Linked DNA regions of Homo sapiens: region 2 is linked to region 1. The links are contacts of gene promoters, found by promoter capture Hi-C in blood cells and fetal thymus (Javierre and others, 2016). All regions are on one chromosome and are shown on one strand. The core of a region is centred on a gene start or on the middle of the fragment in contact, and the rest is flanking DNA. Distances in the headings are between cores, read along the strand shown. Region 1 holds the start of PSMD10 (proteasome 26S subunit, non-ATPase 10). Region 2 holds the start of COL4A6 (collagen type IV alpha 6 chain).

Region 1 (7,416 bases), core at 2,911-5,410:
AAAATAAGAAAAAAAATGTGGATAAATCTGAACCCTCGAACATTGCTGATGGGAAGGTAAAATGGTACGGCCACTCTTGTAAAGAGTCTGAAAGTTTCTCAAAAACTTAAACAGAGTTACGATATGACCCAGCAATTCCACTCCTAGTTAAGTACCCAGAAGAAATAAATGAAATCTCAGCTGGACATGGTGGCTCACACCTGTAATCCCAGCATTTTCTGAGACCTAGGTGGGAGGATCACTTGAACCCAGGAGTTCGAGATCAGCCTGGGCAACATAGTGAGACCCTGTATCTATAAAAAATCATAAATTGGCTGAGTGTGTTGGTGCATGCCTGTAGTTCCAGCTGCTCCAGAGGCTGAGATGACAGGATTGCTTGTGCTAGGGAGGTGGAGGCTGCAGTGAGCCGTGATCGTGCCACTGCACTCCAGCCTGGGCAACAGAAGAAGACCCTGTCTCAATAAAAAATAAAATAGGCTGGGCACAGTGGCTCATGCCTGTAATCCCAGCACTTTGGGAGGATCACCTGAGGTCAGGAGTTAGAGACCAGCCTGGCCAATATGGCGAAACCCTGTCTCTACTAAAAATACAAAACTTAGCCAGGCGTGGTGGCATGCGCCTCAGGAGGCTGAGGCAGGAGAATCGCTTGAGCCTGGGAGGCAAAGATAGCAGTGTGCCAAGATCGTGCCACTGCATTCCAGCCTGGGTGACAGAGTGAGACTCTGTCTCAAAATAAAATGAAATAAAAGTTAAAACAAGAAGCAAGATATCTATTTCCATAAGAATTTGCAGCATATATATTTTCTGAATTCAGACTACAGTTCCAGCAGCAGTTTTTGAACCCTGAAGCAAGTGCAAAGGATATTCCATATTCCAAAATCCCTTTAACTGTGCAATTGAGCAGCTTTCACCAAACTTTCAATTGGAAGTGATTAACCTGCCACATAATGCTAAAAGGCACTATTAAGAGAAGAACAGAATTCTATTCCACGCAATGAATATGCTCAATTAAAATCATGTTTGAGGATAGTGTATGATAAGAATGTGGTACTTGACCTCTGCAGACTTTCTTCCAAACACATAATGCCAGTCTAAGCATAAAATTGAGGGGTTTTCTACAAAATACCTGACCAGTACTCCTTAAAACTATCAAGGTCACCAAAACAAGAAAAGTGTGAGAAAGTGTCACAAACCAGAAGAGGCTAAGGAGATACAATGACTAAACGTAATGTGGTATCCTGGATGGGACAGCATCTCTAGAGATAAACTAGTGAAACTTGAAAAAAAAAAGCATGGGGTATAGTTAATAGCAATATACCACTGTGGGCTTATTAGTTGTGACATAGATAGCATAGCAATGTAAGACGTTAATGATAAGAGATTCAGCAAATGGTGCTAGGACAATTTCTACATCCACATGCAAAAAGATGAATTTAGACTCTCACCTCACATCACAGAGAAAAAATGAACTCAAAATGAATCATAGACTTAAATGTAAGAGATGAAGTAATAAAGCTTTTAGAAGAAAACATTGGAGAAAATCACTGAGACCTTGCAATTAGGCAAAGACTTCTTAAGTACAACACCAAAAGAATGGTCCATGAAAGAAAAAAAAATGATAAATTGAACCTCACCCAAATTCAAAACGTTTTCACTTCAAAAGACACCATCAAAAAAAGAAAAAGGCAAGCAACAGACTGGGAGAATATATGTGCATATCATATATCTCTCAGGGACTTGATCTAGAATATATAAACCATCCTTACAACTCAACACTAAAAAAACAAATAACTCAATTTAAAAACAGACAAAAGATATAACAGACACTTCACTGAAGAAGATATATGAATGGCTAATAAGCACATGAAAATATGCTCACCGTATTATAAATTATAATTTATAAATTAAAACCACAATGAGACACCACTTCACACCCACTTAGAATGGCTATAACAAAAAACACAGTAAATAACAAATGTTGGCAAGGATGTGGAGAAACAGGAACTCTCATACATTGCTAGTGGAAGTGCAAAATGTTGCTGCCATTTTGGAAAACAGTTTTGCAGTTTCTTAAGAAGTTAAGCATAAATTTTCCCTGTGATCCAGTAACTCCACCCTTAAGTATCTATCAAAGAGAAATGAAAAAAATATGTCCGCACGAAGACTTACATACTAATCTTCTTAGCAGCACTAGTCATAGTAGCCAAAAATTGGAAACTGATGTGCCTATCTAATAGTGAGTAGACAGATAAAAATGTGTTATATCCATAAAATGGAATACTATTCAGCAATAAAAAAGTAAGGAAGTACTGATACATACTACAATATGGATGAATCTCAAAAATATTATGCTAAGTGAAAGAAATCAGACACAAAGACTGCATATTGTATGATTTCATTTATATAAAATGTCCAGAATAGGCAAATTTATAGAAACAAAAAAGTAGATTAGTGGTTGTCTGGGGCTGGGAATGGGACAGAGGATTGATTAACTATAAATAGGCATGAGGGACCTTACTGGAGGGATCAAAAAGTTCTAAAACTGATTTATGGTGATGGTTGCCCCACTTCAGTAAAGTTACCAAAAATCATTTAATTATGCACTTGAAATCAGTGAATTTTATGATATGTAAAATGTGCCTCATTTTGAGTGAGTGTTATACAGGAACTCTACTAACCTTGCAACTTTTCTATAAATCTACAACTATTCTGAAATTTTTGAAAAATTAAATAAAAATAAAAATAAAAAAGTATATGTTTATGAATTGATATCAGTATTTGGCAGTACCTATCTATGTAAAATGACATTTTCAAAGATTAAATAGGTAAAAATTTCCTAACAGATCAGCATTAACAGATGAACACTTAAAATCAATTTTGACAATAGGGAACACTAATTCTGAGCCCCAATTAAGCAAAATATTATCCCCTAAAAAGAATTCTATTCTTCTCATTGGTAGTCTTCCTGTATTACAAAAAAAGTACTCAATTACTATTATATTTTGAATTTCATCAATAAAAATTTGTTGAAATTTGTTTTCTCTTTTGTCATAAAAGTACCAACAAAATATTCTTGATTTTGCCTTTTGGCCTACAAAGCCTAAAATATTTACTATCTGGCTCTTTACAGAAAGTTTCCCAACTCCTGTTCTACACTATAACAGGATAAACATAAACATCATGAGTCTCTTTCTTGAATGTATTCTTATCGTTACCTAGTTGTGGCATAATGTCCTCTGGATATGCCCTATAAAGGATCAGTCTTGCATTGCTTCTGCTATGGCACTATTTGGGATTTCTATAAAAAGAAACACTATTAGCTTAATAGTTGTAGCAAAGCCTTGACAACATAGTTAATATCGTGATATTAAAATGCCAACACCACAGCCCGGTATCCTTAAGATGACCCTCATCAAGCTGTGATGTCACCAGGCTATGGACTCACCGAGGTCTCTTAGATATCAGGTGGCTCCCACGGCATCACACCCTGCCTTTGGCATCACCCTGGCACATCACCTCAGTACGGTGCCATATGCTATCACTGCTGTGGTAGAACCCTGTCCTGATGCCACACCGCCGAGATGTCAGAGTAATTAACCCCCACTTCTTTCCACTCCCTAGGCGGTGGCAGGGAGGGGGAGGGTAGCCACAGTCACCGGTTCGAGCTCAGTAGGTAGTACTCAGCTCCAACCCTTGTCCCTTCCGCCTGCCACTGCAGGTCAGGAACCCCGGGGGACAGGACCTTTAGGCTCTCATAACTCTTGCCCTGCCCCCGAACCTGTTTCATATGGCCGACTCAACGACCCGCCAGCGACTACCCACCCCGGCTCTTTCACACGGTTCCACTCAAAGCCGCTCCCCGTACCTGACTCCATTCTCCAGCTGTCATCCTGGGCCAATTCCACCGGCAACTTGACTACGGACGGACGGTCGCTAGGATCCCTGGGACTTGTAGTTCTGCACTGCTAGGGGCCAAGTCTGTGAGGGCAGCAAAGGCGCCTCCCTGCCCGGAACTGCTCTCAAACTGCAACTCCCAGAGGCGCCGCGCGACGGGAAAAGAAAAGGGAACGAGGAAGGCCGGTGATTGGTGAAGCTCTAACGGCTGTTTTGACTGGCGTAGCCGGAGCCGGCGACGTGAGGCGGGCGTTGCTCGCGCGACAAGTAGTTGCTGGGACAGCGAAATGGAGGGGTGTGTGTCTAACCTAATGGTCTGCAACCTGGCCTACAGCGGGAAGCTGGAAGAGTTGAAGGAGAGTATTCTGGCCGATAAATCCCTGGCTACTAGAACTGACCAGGTAAAGCAACGCTAGGTCTCTCCGCAGTCGGCGACGTCGGCGAAGCCCTACGTGGCTTTCGGGGCCCGGCCCTAGCGGAGGCCCCGTTTCTGAGAGAAGCAGAACCCCGCCCCCGCCGCCCCAAGCAGTCCCCCTGGGTCACCTCGGGACTCGCGATAGGCCTGCGGGAGCTAGCCCCACAGACCTCAGATATTTTCCCGTTGGCCCGGAGCTCCGCTCCCTGATTTTTGGATAGTTCTAGAACGTCTACCGCATTTCTCAGAAACTCCCAATCAGTGAAAAGGAAGGCTTTTTATATGGATTTATTTACCTTTACTAGTAACTGTATTCAGTAACGCATGTGAAATTGAACGCCCCTTCCGTGCCAGGCAGTTTGCTAGGAGCTGGGGATACGGTGGAGTGGAAGATGCAGACAATAAAATAAGCACAAAAACATGTCCGATTACAAATTGTGGTAAATACTCGGCAGAGAAGTTTACATGGTGCTTTCAGAACACGTTAATAGGAGGATCTGATGCTGAATATGACTGTCGTTAATTGGAAAAGTTTTTGCAAAGAAGGGAAGGTTAGTTAGACTTTGAAGCATGAGTGGGATTTCCATGGGGGAATGAGTGGACATTCTAAGCAGAGGTAGACAGAAGTTTAGAAGTGTTTCTTTCTGCCCTCCTGCTCACAGGACTCTCGTGCTTTCATCCTCAGTTTCTAGGATTCATGGTGCCTTTAGTAAGCCCACAAATATTTATAGATGGCCTTGTGTTTCGCAGACAGTGTCGTAAGCACTAGTGAGACTGTCCCATACTTACAGATCTCCATTTTGTGTCTTTTGGGAGAGAATTAGAAATCAAGAGACTGTTTTCTCTTTTCTGGAACTTTCCTTTATTACTCAACCTGAAAATGGCCTTATCTTTACCTGGTTTACTTCATTATGGTCTGGTGATATTTAAGGATTTAAATTTAAATGTAATACTTTATATTAAGATTTAATACTCCATTGGAAATTTAACCATTCTTCAGTCAAGTCAGTGGCTTAAAAAGGGAAAGGAACTATTCAGCATCAAGAGACGTAAAAAACATGAAGAAATGCAATTTATGGATCTCGTCTGGTTCCTGATTTAAACAAACCAACTGCAAAAAGACATTTGGGAGACAGTTGGGGGCAATCTGAATACAGACCGGATATTAGACATTCTAAAGGAGTTAGTGTTAATTTTAGTAAGTGTAATAATGGTCTCATAGTTATATAAGAAATACCTTTATTTTTTACATACTGAAAGAGAAGGGTGAAAAGTCATGATATTTAGGATTTGTTTTTGGAAAGCTCAGCAAGGAAAAAACTAGTTAAAGCAAATAGGGCAAGATGTTTGTTGTTAAATCTAAGCAGTAGGCCTGTGGGTTTCTATTCTATTCCCTCTATTTTTGTGTTTGAAATTTTTTTGTAATAGAGTTTAAAATACCATTTTCTATTCTGTGGGGCTAAGAAGTATAGCAGTCACTGCAAATAGGGATTCCCTTTGACAAATAATGACTACTATAGCTTTTTTAATTTTTATTTATTTTTATTTATTTATTTTTTGAAACAGAGTTTCGCTCTTGTTGCCCAGGCTGGAGTGCAGTGGTGCCGTATCACCTCACTGCAACCTCTGCCTCCCGGGTTCAAGCGATTCCCCTGCCTCAGCCTCCCAAGTAGCTGGGATTACAGGCGCCTGCCACCACGCCTGGCTAACTTTTGTATTTTTAGTAGAGACGGAGTTTCACCATGTTGCCAGGCTGGTCTAGAACTCCTGACCTCGGGTGATCTGCCCACCTCAGCCTCCCAAAGTGCTGGGATTATAGGCGTGAACCACCGCACCCGGCCATAGCTTATTATTTTTTATAAAAAGTAATTTTCTTGTTTTCTGTGTGTTGTGTTTTCTAAATTATATTTCTAATTTATTTATGATTTTAAATTCTAGATAATTTCAACTAGTTTAATGAACATTTCTTCCCCCATTAGATTCATGTGTTCCTTCTACAGCATCTAACTTGAGGTCAGTGTGGTAGTAGAGATTTCAGAGTCAGAACTTCACTGACAGTTGTGCCCCAACTTCACCATTTAGTATCCATATGACCGTCCACAAGTTGCTTACCCTGAGGAGTTTTAGTTTCCTCATCTGAAAAATGGAGATAATAAGCACTGTGTAGAATGGTAGGAATTAAATGATACTATACATGTAAAACTCCCAGCACAGTGCCTGACATAAAAGTACGTAAATAATGTAATAGTAAAACAACCAAAGATGTATTTCTGTCAAAGCATTGAAATCAGTTTCTTGCTCTACTACTTTCCTTGTCGTATTCTGCCCAGAATTACGTATGTTCATCAATGTCATTCTCCCCATGTTACTTAAACCTTCATCTGTCTTATACCAGTAAGTAATATAGTTTAAGGTTACCTACCTGAGGATCCAGTGCTCTGCATTTCGTATTTTCAAACTATAGATTTGCCAGCACCAGTATTTTTTTTCTTGCTTTTTTGCCTTCTATTTCAAGAATGTTTCTATTACTGCTTCTCTGTAGGACAGCAGAACTGCATTGCACTGGGCATGCTCAGCTGGACATACAGAAATTGTTGAATTTTTGTTGCAACTTGGAGTGCCAGTGAATGATAAAGACGATGTGAGTACTTTGATAAAGTTGAGTTGATAAATTCCCAGTTATCTTTGTACTCCAGACTGGTGTTTACTGAAGCCTGTGCATTAAGCTTATAAAGAAAATTGTAACCTTTATGACTGGAAAGTTACATCATGGCCCTTGTGATCAAGCATGAGACTCATGGTTGCATTATTTTACAATGTTATGTTTGCCACTCATACTCTGTGATTTAAGGTAAACATACAGGAGAGGCTGAGGTAGGAGGATTGCTCCAGCCTAGTAGTTTGAGGCTGCAGTGAGCCATTGTACTCTATCCTGGGTGACAGACTGAGACCTTGTCTCTAAAAATAAAAAAACAAAAATAAACATACAGATCAGGGCTTGTTATGGTGAACCCTAAAAGACCATAAACTCTTTCTATTATGTTGGATTTTTTGTTTTTTGGTGAACATGGCCTGAATAATGAGGACCTAAATAACTTTTTTGTTAC
Region 2 (7,416 bases), core at 254-2,753, 350 kb before region 1:
TCCCCTCCCCAAAGCCGGTCTCTCAGGAGAACTTTTCCCTTCTGTCCAGACTTGCAAACTTTTTCTTCACTCAATTCCTACAGATCTACTTTCCTCCCTCTCTTCCCCGTGCAAGGCCCCCCTCCTCACCAGCACAAGGGAATTTGAGTATCACTCCGCCACAGTTTTAGACTGCACCGGCAACCTGCGAGGGAGTGACGCTCAGTTATTTGGGGGAGGGAAACTTCCAGACTAGTTGACTGAGCACCATGAGTCCAACCGGGAAGCTTTTCTATTCGTTCATTTGCACCTTCCGTTGATACTACTTTTCTAGGCTCAGTTCCAATCTCATTGGTGTGCGTACCAAAGCCAATTACAAATAGATCTAAACTGGGACTATTTTTTTAGCGGATGGATCTCAGAGGGGCCGTGCTTTTTATTGTTACTCATTAGAAACAAATTTTGGTCGGTGCTCCCTGGGCTGCTGGTCTTCTTTACCTTCCAGCTGCTCACAGAACAGAGAGTTTCTACATACAAGCAGAAGATGTGAAAATATTGGGAATAAATAAAGTATATGCTTATAAACAAGTAAGAAAATAAGTATATGTGCGTGAATACTTTATGTGTGTTATATACGTATAAGATCTGGGAGCATTCAGCAGGTATTGGTAATTATTCTATGGTATTATGTTATTATAATACAGCTATATCTCTGTTTAGCTGCATTGAATCCTATAATTAATGCCTCCTATATTGAGCTAATGTAAAAGGTATTGACTCTCATTGTAGTTGTGTTTCAGAAAGATTTAGGGCAGGGAATTAAATAAATTTAGTGCAGTGTTTCTTAGAATTAATATAAACACTTAATTGGAAATATTTAAATAGAGTTGATGGCAGCTGAATCGATATCTCCCATATAAAGACTTGAATGTTCCTTTGATAATTCTGATATATAGATTTTTTTTAAAGTAACAAAAGAACTAGAAAATACTTTCTGCGGACTCCTTGGAGAATCTTCAAGAATTTGATGAAGAATTCTTCACAACATTTCTATCTTCCTAGAATTAACCACTTTAGAGTCTTTCAAGGTTTTGGATCTATTTCACGAGGGCCCACTCATCCTTAGGTTCTGCTTAGCTCAGAGTGGATTTACAACTCCAGAAACTGTCTCCCCTTCCCAATAGCCTAGTGTACTATCAATTTGAATCAGTGTTGTATGCATTTGGGCATGTGTGCAAGGGCACTTTCGGGCCCATCTGTCTTATGTGGGAATAGTATGCCTATGTCTCTTTATGTGTAACCTAACAGTAAAGTTGAAAGTATATGATGCACAGTTGCTTAGGTCTTAGCGTATAGGTCTCTAAGGGGCTGTGTGTGAAGCTGTGGAGATACTTAGGGCTGTTGTGTGGAAAGGTGCCTGAAAGTGAGAAAGACTACCGGCTGCCCAAGGTAGGGGGGATGATTGACAGCAGACAGCCCCGCCCCTTTCCCCTCCATTCTTTCCTCTCCTGCTGCATGGAACTATCTCCTGAGTGCTGCAAGTTGTAACGGGCACCGCTGAGCCTGTTTCCCTTTGGAGCACTTCTTATCTAGAAGCAGTGTTTAGTTTCTTCCAAACTGGGCCACTTCGTCCACCTACTCTGTTCTGAGTAAGGAAACAGCCTCCAAGCATCAGCAGAGCCCAGATGAGCACGGGCCGCGGAGCCGCTTAGCAGTCTCCCGGGACCCAGCTCCGGAGGAGCCGCAAGCATGCACCCTGGGTGAGCTGTTGCTGCCCCGAGCTCCCCTCCTCTTTCTTACTTCGGGTTACTTTGCCAGGCCGGGACTATACTGGTACTTCTGTCACTGCAGAGAAATTGGGAGCAGGCATCCAAAAGGGTTCGGGGGGCGACAGGCAGACGCACGACCCCGAAGCCTAGAGAGCCCATTACTCACCCTCCCTCCCATTTCAGGTTGTGGCTGCTCCTGGTTACGTTGTGCCTGACCGAGGAACTGGCAGCAGCGGTGAGTCTCTTCTCACGACCCTTTTCCGTCCCCCTCCTTTGACCCTCTAACCATCCCCATCTCTAGTATTTATGTTAGGGGGTTGCAGAGAGTTTCACCACGAGACGGAGTCCACACCACTCCCCTTTCTAATGGGAGTTAATGAGATTCTTGAGAGGAATAGCACAGTGTCAAGTCAGTGTTTTTGGGACCAAGATATCTTCCAAAACTTCGTAACGGGTTGGGAAAATAAAAGTGGAAGACACAAGATGCACACATTTCTGAGCCTCTTCCCCAGACGACTTAAGATGACTAGCATCAATCTCCACGGCAGAAGAAACATAATTTTCCCTGGTCTTCAAGAACTTGAATTGGCACACTAGTTTGAGAGTGGGAGGAGAGCACAAGGAGTGGAACTTCAAAGTGCCGCAGATGCTATGGAAATGAAACTTAAGTACATGCTTAGAGTCGTTTGACAGTACCAGGTGACAACATCTGGATTCTTTAACTACCTGAATTGAACTGATACCACTAGGTGATGTTCAATTTCTGTCTGATGTGTCGTGTTACTCGTTTCTGCATCACCAGAAAGTTAAAAGATAAAGCTGTTATAATAGAAAAAAAAATCAAAGTTAACATTTCATAGGCTGTTTAGATGTCATCTATCAAATCAACTAGGGACTGCAGGTAAAGAAATTTCTGAAGACTTTTGGTCAAGAAAAGTTTAATGGGTCCCAGAAAGTATTGAAATCTCCAGTGGAATTACTAGGATAATTTCACAAAGATGGAGTGACCCAAATAATCAAAGATGCTGCAGTTTTCCAGTTTCACTAGCTACTTAAGCTGGCAGAAATAAAAACTGTTGAGTTTGAATACGAAGTTGTTCAATTGTTGAGTACTATTTCACTGCTGTATTTTTTTTAAAAATTCTTAATGATACCCAAAGCCATTCCCTATATAGATGAGAGATGAATATATATTCCAAATATTTATCTTGTGGGTTTTGATCATTTTAACTGATTGGCTCTGCTTTTTAATATTTTAAATATTTTTAAATACTATTATAGGGCCATACGTAATTCAACCTAATAAATCACCCAATGTGTTTATGAAAAAATGGATTATTTTATCTTGGCATATGATGTCTTTAAGAAAATACCAGAGTGAAGCTATTTTTCTTGTAAAGAGAGGAAGATGCCAGAAAACTTGAATACCAACATCTTGTGACCCCTTAACTCAATATCAGTTCCTATGTAAGTAAATTCTGGACTTCGTAAGCAAAGATATTGATCTAAGACTCTGTGTACTTCTCCATCTTATTCCTTCAATATACAAGTTTAGTTATGTATTACCTTGAGGCTCAATAACTACATTAATTGAAAATGCCAAGATTTGATTAGTTAACAATTCATCCAGGAATCTTGCCACTTGTAAAAGTGTCATGCATGGGCAGAATACCCTCAAGCAAAACTTTTATTTTTAGACTCTGGCTGATTTTATTCAGTGTACTTTTGGGAAAAACACTACAGATCATTCCAGATAGCTGAAGACTTCACAAACACTGCATCCTGTCACTTAATACCTTTAAAAACCACTTTAATGCTTGCAATTCTTTCAAGTATTGAAATGAGTCTCCAAAATTAAGCACTGCTTTGGTGTATGAGTTTTAGACTCTGTCTCATTGTTTTATGTCACCTGCTATGTCAGTATGATTGACCATGGTAAGTCTAAAATTGACCTTGAGTTCCACAGATAATACTTTATTTTTTGACTTATTTAAGTACACAGCCACTTCCTTCACTTGTTGTTTACTTATGCAAAATATCTTTGACATTGTAAAGCTACTTTTTTTCAGTTTTGGGGAAAATGACAAATATAAAGACAGTCACAGAATAAGTTATCAGAAGATGACTTTTCTGAAGGGTTGTTTTGTTTTTCTTTTACACTCTTTGCACGGGATTCTTATCTATACGGGCTGGTTCTCGTATTCTACACTCAATTCCAGTTTATCCTCATGAGTTTGTGTGTTTTTCACCCTTTGGATTGTTTTAAACATTTAAATTCTCTGTGCCATGTTTGACTAATATTAACGAAAATAGCTATTAAAAATAGATTGGCAGGAACTATGTTGTGTTTTGCTATGAGAAAGTCTCTTTACTGTGAGAATTAAGCTGCCAATAATATTGGCAAGCATTTAAAGATTGGGTCATTTAGGGGCTTTTGGGCTCTTTCTTTTCCTGAGTTTACAAAGCACATCTATATAAAGTAAAGGAAAACTAAATGTTAAAATCCATGTTAAAGAATGAGCTTCCATTAAATTTACTTTAAAGGAGTAATGATCTTCATTCAGGTGAAATATTTGCACAATTTATCTGCATAAAATAGAATCTAGGATCTCAGAACATCCATGTCTTTGGCTGTTAGGCGCCTAACTATCTAAGGGGCTGTGCTAGGCCACGCACAGCATGCAAAGATTTATTTAAACATAGTTCCTAACTCTCTAGGAATTTGCTTTCTCAGACAATGGTGGTCATTATGTTCCTTAGAAGATAGGATGCTTAATGATAAGTTATTATCTACATGTACTTGCATCGTGTTAGCGAAATGTCTAGAAAGATACAAATCTCACCATCAGCCAATATATCTAGGAAAAAACATATATCCCGAAGTAGTCAGATCCTTATGTTTTCTTCACACTTTGCCCCCTCCAAATGAGCTTTCAGGAAAAGGTCTAATACAATCAAGCATACTTAAAGTCAAAAGCCTAGGGGGATACTTATTTGGGTTGGGAGGAGGGTAAGGAGAGAAAACATTTCTATTGTTCCTTCTGCAGAGAGCATAGGTAAAATGCCTTTAGCTGCACTCAAATCAAGGTCTGATTGAAATATCAACTTCTTTCTTTAAAGTTGTAACATGCCCAGGTTGGTCCTTTCTGCTGTGATTTTCAGTCGTATAGTAGTCATCAATATATGAATATTATGTTAAGGGAGTTCAGCGATGGAGACGATCTCTTCCAGTTCTAAAGACCAAGAGGAATATTTGCATTATCTGGGGCTGTGTCTCTATAAATCCTTAAAGTACTCTTCTACTTTACCTGCTAGCAAATATCCTATATCAGCTAGCTATGAAAAATCACAACATATAATATACGTGTGTGTATGTGTGTATATAAATATATAATATATATATATATATATCTTGGGATGACTAAGGATACTGATAGAAATGTATGAGTACACTATTAAGTAAATCATCAAATGACTGTAAATAGATAATCCATAGATGATAATATATTTACATTATTTATAGGTGAAATTCAAATATATTTTAAGATAGAGGAGGGGATAATAGATGTTATTATCTAAAGTGTTACTAAAGAAGCAAATATATAACCATTTCAAAAATTGTTTTATTATACATTTTAATGATTGTATTTCAGTGTAATCAGTTTCCATTGTAATCCTATGTATTTTATTGTATACTTCTAAAACTAGCAGGGTGCTGTGGTGTGTGCCTGTAGTCCCAGCTACTTAGGAGGAGGCTGAGGCAGGAGGATTGCTTGAGAACAGAAGTTTGAGGCTGTGACGCACCATCATCGTGCCTGTGAATAGCCACTGTACTCCACCCTGGGCAGCAGAGTGAAACCCTGTCTCAAAAGGAAAAAAAAAATAGTATTCTAAAAAGGAGTCCATAGGCTTCACTAGACTGCCAAACTATGGCATGAAAAAAGTACCCCTAGTTTAAGAAAATTGGTTTTACAAAAACAGTCATTTTCTAATGTTTGTTCAGGCATGAGGGGAATTGTGTTGACTCTAAGTGCCAACAATCTTTTAATTTTTAAGCATAGTTTGGAGTCTTCAATAAATATGCTCCTATATTCTGTAAGCTCATAATCAAGCCATATGACTGGAGTAAAGTATACTGTTTCCCTTATTATCTCATTAATAGAAAAAACTGATTGACCTCAATTATTAATATTGGTTTTTATTTGCCTGAATTATATGGATTATTTCATAATTTTACCACAGGTGCAATTATGGTACACCACAGCCTCAAGCAATCCACCTGCCTCAGCCTCCTGAGTAGCTGGGACTATAGGCACACACCACAGCTCCCTGTTAGAATAATCTTAAAAGTATGGCTGGGTGCAGTGGCTCATGCCTGTAATCCCAGCAGTTTGGGAGGCCGAGGTAGGTGGATTGCTTGAGCTCATGAGTTCAAGACCAGCCTAGGCAACATAGTGAAACTCCGTCTCTACAAAAAATACAAAAATTAGCTGGGCATGGTGGTGCACGCCTATAGTCCTATCTACTGGGAGGCTGAGGTGGGAGGATGGCTTGAGCCCAGGAGTTGGAGGTTGCAGGTGAGCTGAGATCATGCCACTGCACTACAGCCTGAGCAATAGAGCTAGACCTTGTCAAAAAAAAAAAGAGAAAAAGAAAAGAAAAAGAAAGAAAAAACAGTATACAGTAATATACTTGGAGTATAGACTTGTCTTATACTGTGTAGGTGACAAGACATACACATAGAAAAAGAACATCGTGGGATAACATCAGGCTATATTAAACTATCAAGTCCTTTATAGCTGCCTGAATGTCCCAGTGAGGCAGATCATAGGGCTTTTACTTGGTTTAAAGTCTAATTAAATGTAAATAGAAGACCTGATAAGCATGCTCAAGGGAAAATAGTAATGGGAAAATTAGCTAAGAGCAATTATCAACTCTCTTTCTTTAATCTATCCCTTTCCTAGGGTTTCTATTTTTCTTCTATAAACAATATTGAATTCTCCTCCGTTATAACAATGAATTTAAACAAAATCACTTCATTTACTTTAATAACTCTAACCTCTTCAATTGCATTACCCCCAAGTTCCTGGGTATTGTCTAGTCTTCATCACCAACCACTTACCCTTCAACCTATTATAGTCTCAACTGAGTCTACTCCAGGCAAACAGCCCTCTTTCAAGCTACTAATGGCTGCCTAATTACCAAACCCAATGGCTTATTTGCAGTCCCCATTCTATCTGACTTCACTGTGTTATCTGACATTTCCCAGTTACTCTGATACTTCTTTATCCCCTTGTTTTTTTTTAATTTTGTTTTGTTTTGTTTTTTTGTTTTTTTGTTTGAGACAGAGTCTCACTATGTCACCCAGGCTGGAGTGCAGTGGCACAGTCTTGGCTCACTGCAACCTCCACCTCCCAGGTTCAAGTGATTCTCCTGCCTCAGCCTCCCGAGTAGCTGGGACTACAGGTGCCCGCCATCACACCCGGCTAATTTTTGTATTTTGAGTAGAGACGGGGTTTCACCATGTTAGCCAGTCTGGTCTTGAACTCCTGACCTCAGGTGATCCACCCGCCTCGGCCTCCCAAAGTGCTGGGATTACAGGCGTGAGCCACCGCACCCGGCCTCCTCTTGTTTTTTAAGACATTATACCTCACTAGGGAGCTGGTAA

Evidence for each region. The method cuts DNA at HindIII sites, captures the fragments that hold promoters and counts their contacts. A CHiCAGO score of 5 or more calls a contact.
Region 2: the fragment with the promoter of COL4A6 here is called in contact with the fragment with the promoter of PSMD10 in region 1 in 2 of 17 cell types (fetal thymus and erythroblasts); the score reaches 7.3 in fetal thymus.

What each region holds. Positions count from the first base shown.
Region 1 is chrX:108,088,286-108,095,701 of GRCh38, reverse strand. PSMD10 (proteasome 26S subunit, non-ATPase 10) reads left to right here and starts at 4,160. Exons shown (of 5, transcript NM_002814.4): 1 at 4,160-4,295; 2 at 6,852-6,950. The coding sequence starts at 4,182. It overlaps ATG4A (autophagy related 4A cysteine peptidase), which reads right to left and starts at 3,924. Exons shown (of 13, transcript NM_052936.5): 1 at 3,866-3,924. The coding sequence starts at 3,875. RefSeq lists enhancers at 3,722-3,961, 4,012-4,411. The HindIII fragment of the contact is 5,520 bases long and covers 1,518-7,037 here.
Region 2 is chrX:108,432,509-108,439,924 of GRCh38, reverse strand. It overlaps COL4A6 (collagen type IV alpha 6 chain), which reads left to right and starts at 1,503. Exons shown (of 45, transcript NM_033641.4): 1 at 1,503-1,739; 2 at 1,932-1,983. The coding sequence starts at 1,729. COL4A5 (collagen type IV alpha 5 chain) reads right to left here and starts at 87. Exons shown (of 53, transcript NM_033380.3): 1 at 1-87. The HindIII fragment of the contact is 13,330 bases long and covers 269-7,416 here.